Regions from separate parts of the Homo sapiens genome. Here all the other regions are linked to region 3. The links are contacts of gene promoters, found by promoter capture Hi-C in human tissues and cell types (Jung and others, 2019). All regions are on one chromosome and are shown on one strand. The core of a region is centred on a gene start or on the middle of the fragment in contact, and the rest is flanking DNA. Distances in the headings are between cores, read along the strand shown. Region 1 has its middle 53 kb from the start of FUBP3. Region 2 overlaps FIBCD1 (fibrinogen C domain containing 1). Region 3 holds the start of PRDM12 (PR/SET domain 12).

Region 1 (2,875 bases), core at 24-2,523, 140 kb after region 3:
TAAATATGCAGTGAAGGAATGGGAGGTGAATGAAGTTACTTCAGATACTTTTTGGACATCTGGAGGGTATCTTTTTTTTCCTCCCTTCCATTCTACCTTCCTTTTTACCTAACTCCCTTCCCACCTTCCCTCCTCATCTCAGGCCCTTTCTTTAGGGTAAAGATCTTAACACACACATGCACACTCGCCCCTTCTCATTTCACTCCGGGAGGTTCTAAACACCAGCACTCTCAGCCTTGGCGCGCGCATGTATCAGCTGTTAAAATGCAGACTGTGGTCAGTAGGTCTGGAGCAAAGGGGCCCAGATTCTGCCTTTCTAGTGAGCTCCCAGGGGCCCCTGTGGGTCTATGGCCCCTGCTTGAAGGCGGGAGGCTGTAGAGCCGCCTGCTCTTCCTGCTGGCTCAGGCTAGGGGTAGAGGGTCACACGAGGACCGAGGAGAATTTGGAAGCAGAGCCCTCCTGCTCTTGTTAACCTTCCTCCCTAAATATGGGCTACTGTGCTTTCTGGGGAGCAAGGGGGTCCCAGCATGGGGTGGCTTGCTGCCTCTGGCCTCTGCCCTCGTTGGGATGTTGTGACTCAGGCAGGACACTCTGTTGAAGGTGGAGTTTCTGCCCCACACAGAGTCAAAGGCAGGAAGTCCCACCTTGGAGGCACACTGGGTCCACTGGTCCTGCCCAGAGGCTGTGGGACAGCCAAGCTTGGCCTTCCAGGGACCTATGATACCCCCAATACCACGACTGCCCCACCAGACTGGCTGGCCACTGCCACCTTCGCCCACAGGAGAAGGCCGAAGCTGAGCAGGGAGAGTTCCCCCTGGGGAAACTGGAGGCTTCCTTGAACTTACTCTGTGACCTTGAGAAGCCCCCCAGCCTCAGTTTCCCCATCCGAATTCTAGGGGCTGGTCTCAGCAATCCCAGCTCCTGCCTGAGACAGTCGGCGAGCCCAGCGAGGTCCTGGGGCCGTGCGTGTGCACGGAGGCTGACTCCGCGGCTGTCCGGGTGGGATTTCTGGCGGCAGGGGTGTCTCCCTCCTGTCCCAACTGGCCCACATGGGGCTGTTTTTCACAGCACCATTGATCCGGCTAAACCAGGGAGATGCATTACATCTCCTCCGGAGGTCAGGGGTTGGGCAGCCCAGCTGGTAAATCGCCCGCTGGCTGTGTTTTAAGGCCCTGCCCTGTGTTTTGGCTCCTTGGACCTTGGGAGAAACTGCTGAAGTTTGATATGGCTCTGGGGGCCCATGGGGGCAAAGGGCGTCAGGCAAGGGAGGGACAAATAGATCGATGGGAAACTGCCATGACCTCATGACCTCGGAGATGGCTTCAAACTGTGTCTTAACATGCCCTGGTAAATCTGAGGGTGGACCTGCCTCCCCTGGGGACAGTGGGGACAGTGAGGACGGGGCGGGAGGAGGCAGTGAAGGGCATGCCAGGGAAGTGAGAGACCACGGTCTGAGCGGCTGGATTCTTAGCGTTCGCCAGCTGCAGCCAGGCTGGGTTTGATCTGCTCTCCCTTGTCGTCATGTAGCGGGGGCACCGCACTTTACAGTGTGCACCGTACGCGCTGCATGTTCTGTCCTTGCGGGTGCAGACTTTGATGGTGGGGAAGACTGGGCTCAGCCTGGGCCCAGGTGGCCCGGTTTGCAGGTGGCAGAGCTTTTGAGGGACTGCAAATGGGTCAGTCTAGCTGAGGGACAAAATCCAAAGGGAGTCCAGACAGGTGGGGACAGGGCTCCAGAGGTGGCCAGGGACCAGCGTCACACTTTAAAGAGCCCCAGGAAGCTTTCAGCTCAGGCAAGAGAGGGAGGAATAACATGCAATTGTGTTCCAGAAAGCTCACATGGCTTCAGTGCGGGGCCAGAAGGGAAGCTGGTTTGGTTGCGATGATTCCTCACGGGCCCCCACCATCTTCCTAGGCACTTGCCCGCAGGGCCCGGAGTCACAGATCTGGGTTCGAATCCCATCTCTGCCCCTGACTTGCAAGTGACTTCTCTCTGAGCTCTGGTTTCCCAGCCTGTGTCTCTATGAGTGTTAGACGTTTGGCTGAGACGAGCTCAGGCGCAGCGCCTGGGGCCGAGCCGTCAACGCGGCCACTGTCACCATCCCACTTCCCCTCGGCCAGGCAGCCTCAGTCTCCCTCCCGATGCCACAGCCCTCCTGGGGTCTGCAGGAAGTAAAGTCTGTACACCTGCCCAGTCCCTGGTGCCCAACCCAGATGGGCTGAGGGCACACAGTGTGGAGGCAACCAGCCATTTCTTCCTTCACCTTTACCCTCTTTCCTGGAGTTGGGGGGCAAGATCCAGGGGGCGCCTCACTGTCCTCCCAGTGGCATTAACTCCTTGCTGGGCCTCTTGTGACCCCTGGGGTGAGGCACATCCAGAGGCTGGTGGCTGCAGATTCCAGCCTGGTCGTGACTATGACTGGCCCTTCATCAGGGTGTGCCCTTCTCTATGGGCCTCAGTCTCCCCATTTGTGCAATGATTGGCATTTCCCAAATACAACAGGCATGACTGGTGGCCCAAAAGATGATTTGGGCTGAACATTGCACCCGCTGTGATAAATGTATCCTCTTTCTCTTTTTTTTTTTTTGAGACAGGGTTTCACTCTTCTTGCCCAGGCTGGAGTGCAATGGCACGATCTCAGCTCACTGCAACCTCCGCCTCCTGGGTTCAAGCAATTCTCCTGCCTCAGCCTCCTGAGTTGCTGGGACTACACCCACCACCATGCCCGGCTAATATTTTATATTTTTAGTAGAGAAGGGGTTTCACCATGTTGGCCAGGCTGGTCTCGAACGCCTGACCTCAGGTGATCCACCCACCTCGGCTTCCCAAATTACTGGGATTACAGGTATGAGCCACTGCGCCCGGCCTAAACGT
Region 2 (2,983 bases), core at 123-2,622, 240 kb before region 3:
CAGGTCCCGAGCCCTGGCCCGCGGGAAGGCAGCTAAGGCCCGGTGAGAAATCGAGTGCAGCGCCGGTGGGCTGGCACTGCTGGGGGACCCAGTACACCCTCCACAGCCGCTGGCCCAGGTGCTAAGTTCCTCATTGCCCCGGGGCCAGCGGGGCTGGTCGGCTGCTCTGAGTGTGGGGCCCGCCAAGCCCATGCCCACCTGGAACTCCAGCTGGCCCGCAAGCGCCGCACGCAGCCCCGGTTCCCGCTCGCGCCTCTCCCTCCACCCCTCCCTGCAAGCTGAGGGAGTGGGCTCCGGCCTTGGCCAGCCCAGAAAGGGGCTCCCACAGCGCAGCGGTGGGCTGAAGGGCTCCTCAAGTGCCGCCAAAGTGGGAGCCCACGCAGAGGAGGCGCCGAGAGCGAGGGAGGGCTGTGAGGACTGCCAGCACGCTGTCACCTCTCACCAGCCAGGGCTCCTGTTTGGGCCTGGAGGCAACCGCACGCCTTCCTGCCACTGGGACACAGTCCCTGCCTGGCACAAAGTAGGAGCTCAGAAGGTTCTGTCAATATCATTACCTATGTTTAAATTCACTCAGTATTTTAGAATTTTTGAAAGTCCTTAACATTTCTTTTTTTTTTTTAACATTTCACTATCTAAACAAAATATTCTAAACAAAACTTCATTTATCTAAACAAAACATTTATCTTAACAAAACATCCTAAAAGAATCACAACTTTGAGGTCCTATCTACCTATATATATTTGGGAAGTGGCTATGGCTTGAAATGAGGTGGATTTTTCTGGTTGTTCTTGAGATATAATTTACATACAACAAAATTCCCTGTGTGGAAGTGTATGACCCTGTGGTTTTTAGTATATTCAGAATATTACAACCATTGCCACTGGGTCCAGAACCTTTTCCTCACTCCAGAAGGAAACCCTGTACCCCCGGGAGCAGTCACTCCTTGCAGGTTTTGAATATACATGAAACGCACAGGTGCTGGGGAATGTGTGCCCCGAGTGTCATCTGGGCGGCCTCGAATGCCCCACAGTGTCCTCCTGCACTTAAGCCCCCCGGGTGTGTGCGGACATCCAGGGAGTTCCACAAGCTGTGGGGGTTGGGGGCGAGGGGCGGCGGAGGGGGCGCCTTGGGTGGGAGGGAGGGAGAGGGTAAGAAGGGTGAGGACATCCCGGGAGTTCCCCAGTGCGGGGCAGAGCTGGTGGTGGAGGGAGAGGGTGAGAAGGGTGTGGACATCTGAGGAACTCCCCTGCGAGCGAGCGGGGTCAGAGCTGGTAGGGAGGCTTAGGCGGGAAGGAGAGGGTGGGCCTGCGTGCCTGGCGGGAAGCACCACCTGAGAGGCTGAGAGCGCAGGTCTGGGCACCAGCCGGGGTCAGGAGGGCTCCAGGCCTGTAAGGATGTTCAGTGACACCCCTGGAAGATGGGGGGTCGGGGGCCCCAAAGGCAGGGTTGGGGTGGTGAGGCGGGGCCGCCCCTCTGTGTGCATGGAGGCCCCTGGGCAAGATCTGCCACCCATGCCCCCTCCTCACCGGGGCCCATGAGAGCAGGGCCCTCTCTGACCTGCCGTGCCCTGGTGCCCAGGGGGTGCCGACAACAGGGAAGGTCACACCCCGTGTGGACTTCATGCCCACACCCCGTGCTGACCCCCAACCCACTGAGCACCCAGCTACACGCTTCCCATGCATCGTCCCCAAAGCCTCACACCCACCTAGTTGGGGGCCCTGCTGTCGTCCCCTCCTTTTAGAGATGAGGAAGTTGAGGCTTAGGAAAGGGAGGTCCCTTGTCACAAGCCTGCGTGTGTTGGGGTTGGGGGAGCCCCAGCAGGGTCTACACACTGGCGCCCAACCCAGCTCGCCTCATCCCCGAACCTGGTGGGTGGAAGGAGGGGAGATGGGGAGACCCTGCCTCAGGCTCCCCAAGCTGGGGGTAAAGATAAGGACAAGGCGGCAGGGCCAAGGCATGCCCTCGCCACCACCCACCCCCTGGAGCAGCGGTGATGCCCGTGCTCATGGTATCTTAATTGAAATCTATCAGCAGCTGCAGATGATGCGGGAGGAAGCATTTAAGCAGGTCCTCATTCCAGCATCCTGCAGACGAGCCCTGACAGGAATGTCAACAGCGCCAGTCCCTCCTCTGCCGCACCACCCTCCCCATCCCCTCTCAATGAGTGCTTTGTCTTTTCCTATCGAGTCATGGAAGCTCTCTATATATTAAGGTTACCGATCATTTGTCCAACACATGATAGGTATTAACTTCTGGCCATTTGTCTTTCAGCTTTTTCTTTTTCTTTTGTGGGGTCATGTTATTATTTATTTCCTAGAAATTTAAGATGTTTATGCACTCAGTTCTGCCACCCTTTTCTTTGTATCTTTTCTGGGTTTTAGCCCCTGCTTTCCTTTCCTTCCCTTCCTAGTTTTATTTTTTTTTTAAGTCTCCTCTATTTTTTCTTCTGTTTTTCTTTTCTTTCTTTTTTTTTTTTTTTTTGAGACAGAGTCTCACTCTGTAGTTCAGGCTGGAGTACAGTGGCATGATATCAGCTCACTGCAACCTCCACCTCCCGGGTTCAAGCGATTCTCCTGCCTCAGCCTCCCAAGTAGCTGGGATTACAGGCGCCCGCCACCACGCCCGGCTAATTTTTGTATTTTCAGTACAGACAGGGGTTTCACCATATTGGCTAGGCTGGTCTCGAACTCCTGACCTCGTGATCTGCCCGTCTCGGCCTCCCAAAGTGCTGGAATTACAGGCGTAAGCCACCGCGCCCAGGCTTTTCTTCTGTTTTTCTAGTGTTGTTTTAGGTTGACAGCTTTAGTCCAGCTGGAAGTCCACTGGGGTGGACATGTGAAGTTTAGGGTCTTAGTGGTTTCCTGTCTGTTTCAAGCCATCAGCCCTGTTTCTTGCTCTTGGCGATTTGAGCCGGGAGCTGGTGAAGGAGTTGGATCAGGGGCCCAGGGAATCTGGGAAGAACAGCTAACGTGGCTGGGAGCGG
Region 3 (2,870 bases), core at 185-2,684:
CCCGGGCGCGCCCGAGTCCCTCTCTGCTCCCAGGCCCTGGGGTGCCAGGGAGGGCGGCGCCCGGGCTCAGACAAACCCCGATGTCATCTCTCTGGGCGGGGAGGAGCCGCGGCGGCCCCCAGCTCCCCGAGGGTTCCCCTGTCGGGCATCTGCGGCAGGGCTGGAAGCGGCGAGGCGCACAAGGGCGGCCTCCATGTCTTACAAGGTTCCCCTCTAAGCTACCTGGGAAAATACCCGGCGAGCGGGCCGGCTGAAAGGGGGGGGTTAAACGGTGTCCATTGCGGCGCGGCGGGCAATTTGTCACGCTGTTAAAGTGATCGCATTCATTCGGCTCCATTCGAAAGAAATTGCTAATTCTAAATTCATTAGCCCTGGAAGAATGCTGTAGCAGTAAATTGTAGCTCAATGCGGAGGGGACTTGTTTAAAAGGGGCCGAGGAATTCCCCTTACAAAAAAGGGGGATTAGATGGTTGACATAGCGTGAATGGAAGTGGAATTAGTCTTCACGGTAAATTAAGAGAGGAACAGAAATCGTAAAGGGGGAAAAGAGGGCGACGCGCAGAGATGCCAGAGCCAGGGAAAGATATTGTTTGCGGGTTGATGAATGAGGAATAAGAACTTGAGACATCTTAAAGAAAAGAAACTTTTCTCGCTCTCTCTTTCTCTCCCTCGCTCTCCCCGCGGCTTTTTCTCCCCGCCCGCCCTCCCTCCACCCCCTCCCCAGCCCCGGCTGCCTTTTAAAGTTCTTGGTTTAAGTGGGAACTTTCGTGGGTCAAGCCCAAGTTAACTAAATGAATTTAAAACCCCTTCTTTTTGAGTCAACTGCTATTACACGCCTAGTAAGGCTGTAAATGCCGGGAACCCGCCAGCTCAAGCGCAGGAGGGGAAGGGAGGGGCCGGCGGGGGCGTCGGGGCCGAGCGACGGGGTCGCCGGGGTCGGTCCTTGAGCCGGGTGGGCTGCGGAGCTGCTTGGTGGCTCGCGTCCTGGTTTGGCCCATGGGGAAACTGAGGTGCACCGAGCGCCGGGAGAGCCCAGGTTGGCGCGAGTAGCAGCGAGGCCGGGTATCCCAGCCGCGTCTCGCGCATCGCCAGGACGGGAATGGGGGTCGCCGGGAGGAGGGATTGCGCCGGGCTCCGACGGCTGGACTCACCGCCGGAGAAGGACTGCGCCAGCACCTCGGCGGTGAAGGCTGTCTTGGGGCTGGCGTGGTGGCTCTTGTCCTCGAAGAGCTGCTCCCCGAGCACGTTGCGCCAGCGGCCGTACAGGAAGCTGTGCAGGATGTCGGAGGTGATAACCTCGGCCAGCGCCAGTCCCGGCGCCTTCAGCCCGGTCTTGAGCACCAGGGCCTCAGCCGGGAGCACGGAGCCCATCATGGGCGGCCCGGAGCTCCCCGGCGCCGGGGGACGGCCGGGCCGACGGGGGAGGTGGGCGGGCGAGAGGGGAGCCCAAGGGGCGAGAGGAGAGCGCTGCGATGGAGAAGGAACCAGAGCAGGGGGAGGACGGAGAGGAGGAGGACGCAGGAGGGAGCGGGAGGTGAGGGGGCGACTGGGAGGAAAGCGAACGAGGGGGAGAGGGGAAGAGAGATGGTGAAATCTGTAGAGATGGCAAAGGCGGCGCGGAGGGTGGAGAGACGCGGGTGGAGGCGGAGGCGGGTGCGGGGGGTGCAGGGTGGGTGAGAGGCGGGTGGTTGCAGGGAAGCGGCAGCAAGGGGCTCAGGCGCGCGCTAGCCTCTCGCACACTCGGCCGGGGCCGTCTTCCCCTTGGCAAAATCTCAGCGCCTTTATAGGAGCCGCAGTGACCCTCCTAATTGGTTATTAATGACCCCCTGACGTCGGAGGACAGACTTGTTGTACCCGGCTGGGCTCGAGGAGCCTTCGTCGCGAGAGCGCGAGGGGCGGGGGCGCGCGGACCGCTCCAAACAGTACCCCTCCACTCCTCTCTCCCCTTCCTGGTCCTTCCTCCCCCCTCCTGTTTTTCCTTCTCTCCCCGTGGGAAGCGCAGGGCAGGGAGGGAGGCTCAGCCGGCTCTGAGGAGAGGAGGGGACGGAGAAGGGGAGGGGGTGCGGCGAGGCTCTCTAGGACTCCAGGGACCAGGCTAGACAAGAGGGGACGCCTGGCTTCGGGCCCCGCGCTCCCCTCAGGCCTGATCTATGTTCACCGGCCTGGCCCAGCCCGGCGTTCACCTTTACTTTGCTGCCCCGGCTGGCCGGCCCAGCCCTGCACCGCTCTCCCTCCCCGGCCAGAGCCCGCGTCCTCTTCCCTCTCCGGCCCTGCACTCCCCGGGCCGCCACAGTCGCCCCGAGCTCGCGCGCAGCCCTAGTTGCCACGCGGATCCCCTGCTCAGACTGCGCTGCTGAAGCCGGCGCTTCGCTTCATACGGGCCGCGCCAACTCGGTCGCTGTGCACGGTCGGGTGCGAAACTCCTCCGCGGGCTCACGGGGCTGCCGAGGCGGGGCCGCAGCGGCCGTCGGGGCTGGGGCTGGTCCCGGCCTGAGACAGCTTCATGGAAGGCCAGGCTCCCGGCCCTTGCGGGGCCAGGTCGGGGGTCGAGATGGGCGGACAGGAATCGCCCTGGCAGCCTGTCTCTGGGAAAAGAATTTCCTACGGGATATAGGGGGATTGAAAGGGGTCCCGAGACCCTTCCTAGGTGGGAGCAGGCGTGCCTGAGAGCGAAGTCCCTCAGAAACTGCAGGCAGCTCCGCGAGAGGCCTCAGTGCGGGTTCGGCTTGCGGCCCGGCTTTCCGGCTCCTTGCTGAGCTGCAACCTCGGGAAGCCGGTGGCGTTGCGGCGCCCCTTCCTTCTTGCCTCCTAGTTCTTTCTTTCTCCTCTGCCTCTCTCTTCTTTCCCTTCCTCTCCTCTATTCCTCCTGC

Evidence for each region. Contacts are between HindIII fragments. The study calls those that stand out against the background at their distance.
Region 1: a contact is called between a fragment that was not itself captured here and the fragment with the promoter of PRDM12 in region 3, in 3 of the 25 tissues and cell types used here (H1 embryonic stem cells, IMR-90 fibroblasts and spleen).
Region 2: a contact is called between a fragment that was not itself captured here and the fragment with the promoter of PRDM12 in region 3, in 1 of the 25 tissues and cell types used here (bladder).

The regions. Positions count from the first base shown.
Region 1 is chr9:130,525,581-130,528,455 of GRCh38, reverse strand. No RefSeq gene overlaps it. Among named protein-coding and RNA genes, the nearest start is that of FUBP3, 53 kb to the left of the region's middle. RefSeq lists enhancers at 430-930, 1,695-2,194, 2,195-2,696. The HindIII fragment of the contact is 3,402 bases long and covers 1-2,875 here.
Region 2 is chr9:130,907,397-130,910,379 of GRCh38, reverse strand. The region is part of intron 5 of FIBCD1 (fibrinogen C domain containing 1); the gene reads left to right. Among named protein-coding and RNA genes, the nearest start is that of QRFP, 12 kb to the right of the region's middle. The HindIII fragment of the contact is 6,343 bases long and covers 1-2,983 here.
Region 3 is chr9:130,663,158-130,666,027 of GRCh38, reverse strand. PRDM12 (PR/SET domain 12) reads right to left here and starts at 1,434. Exons shown (of 5, transcript NM_021619.3): 1 at 1,152-1,434. The coding sequence starts at 1,374. RefSeq lists enhancers at 187-860, 2,151-2,870. The HindIII fragment of the contact is 18,845 bases long and covers 1-2,870 here.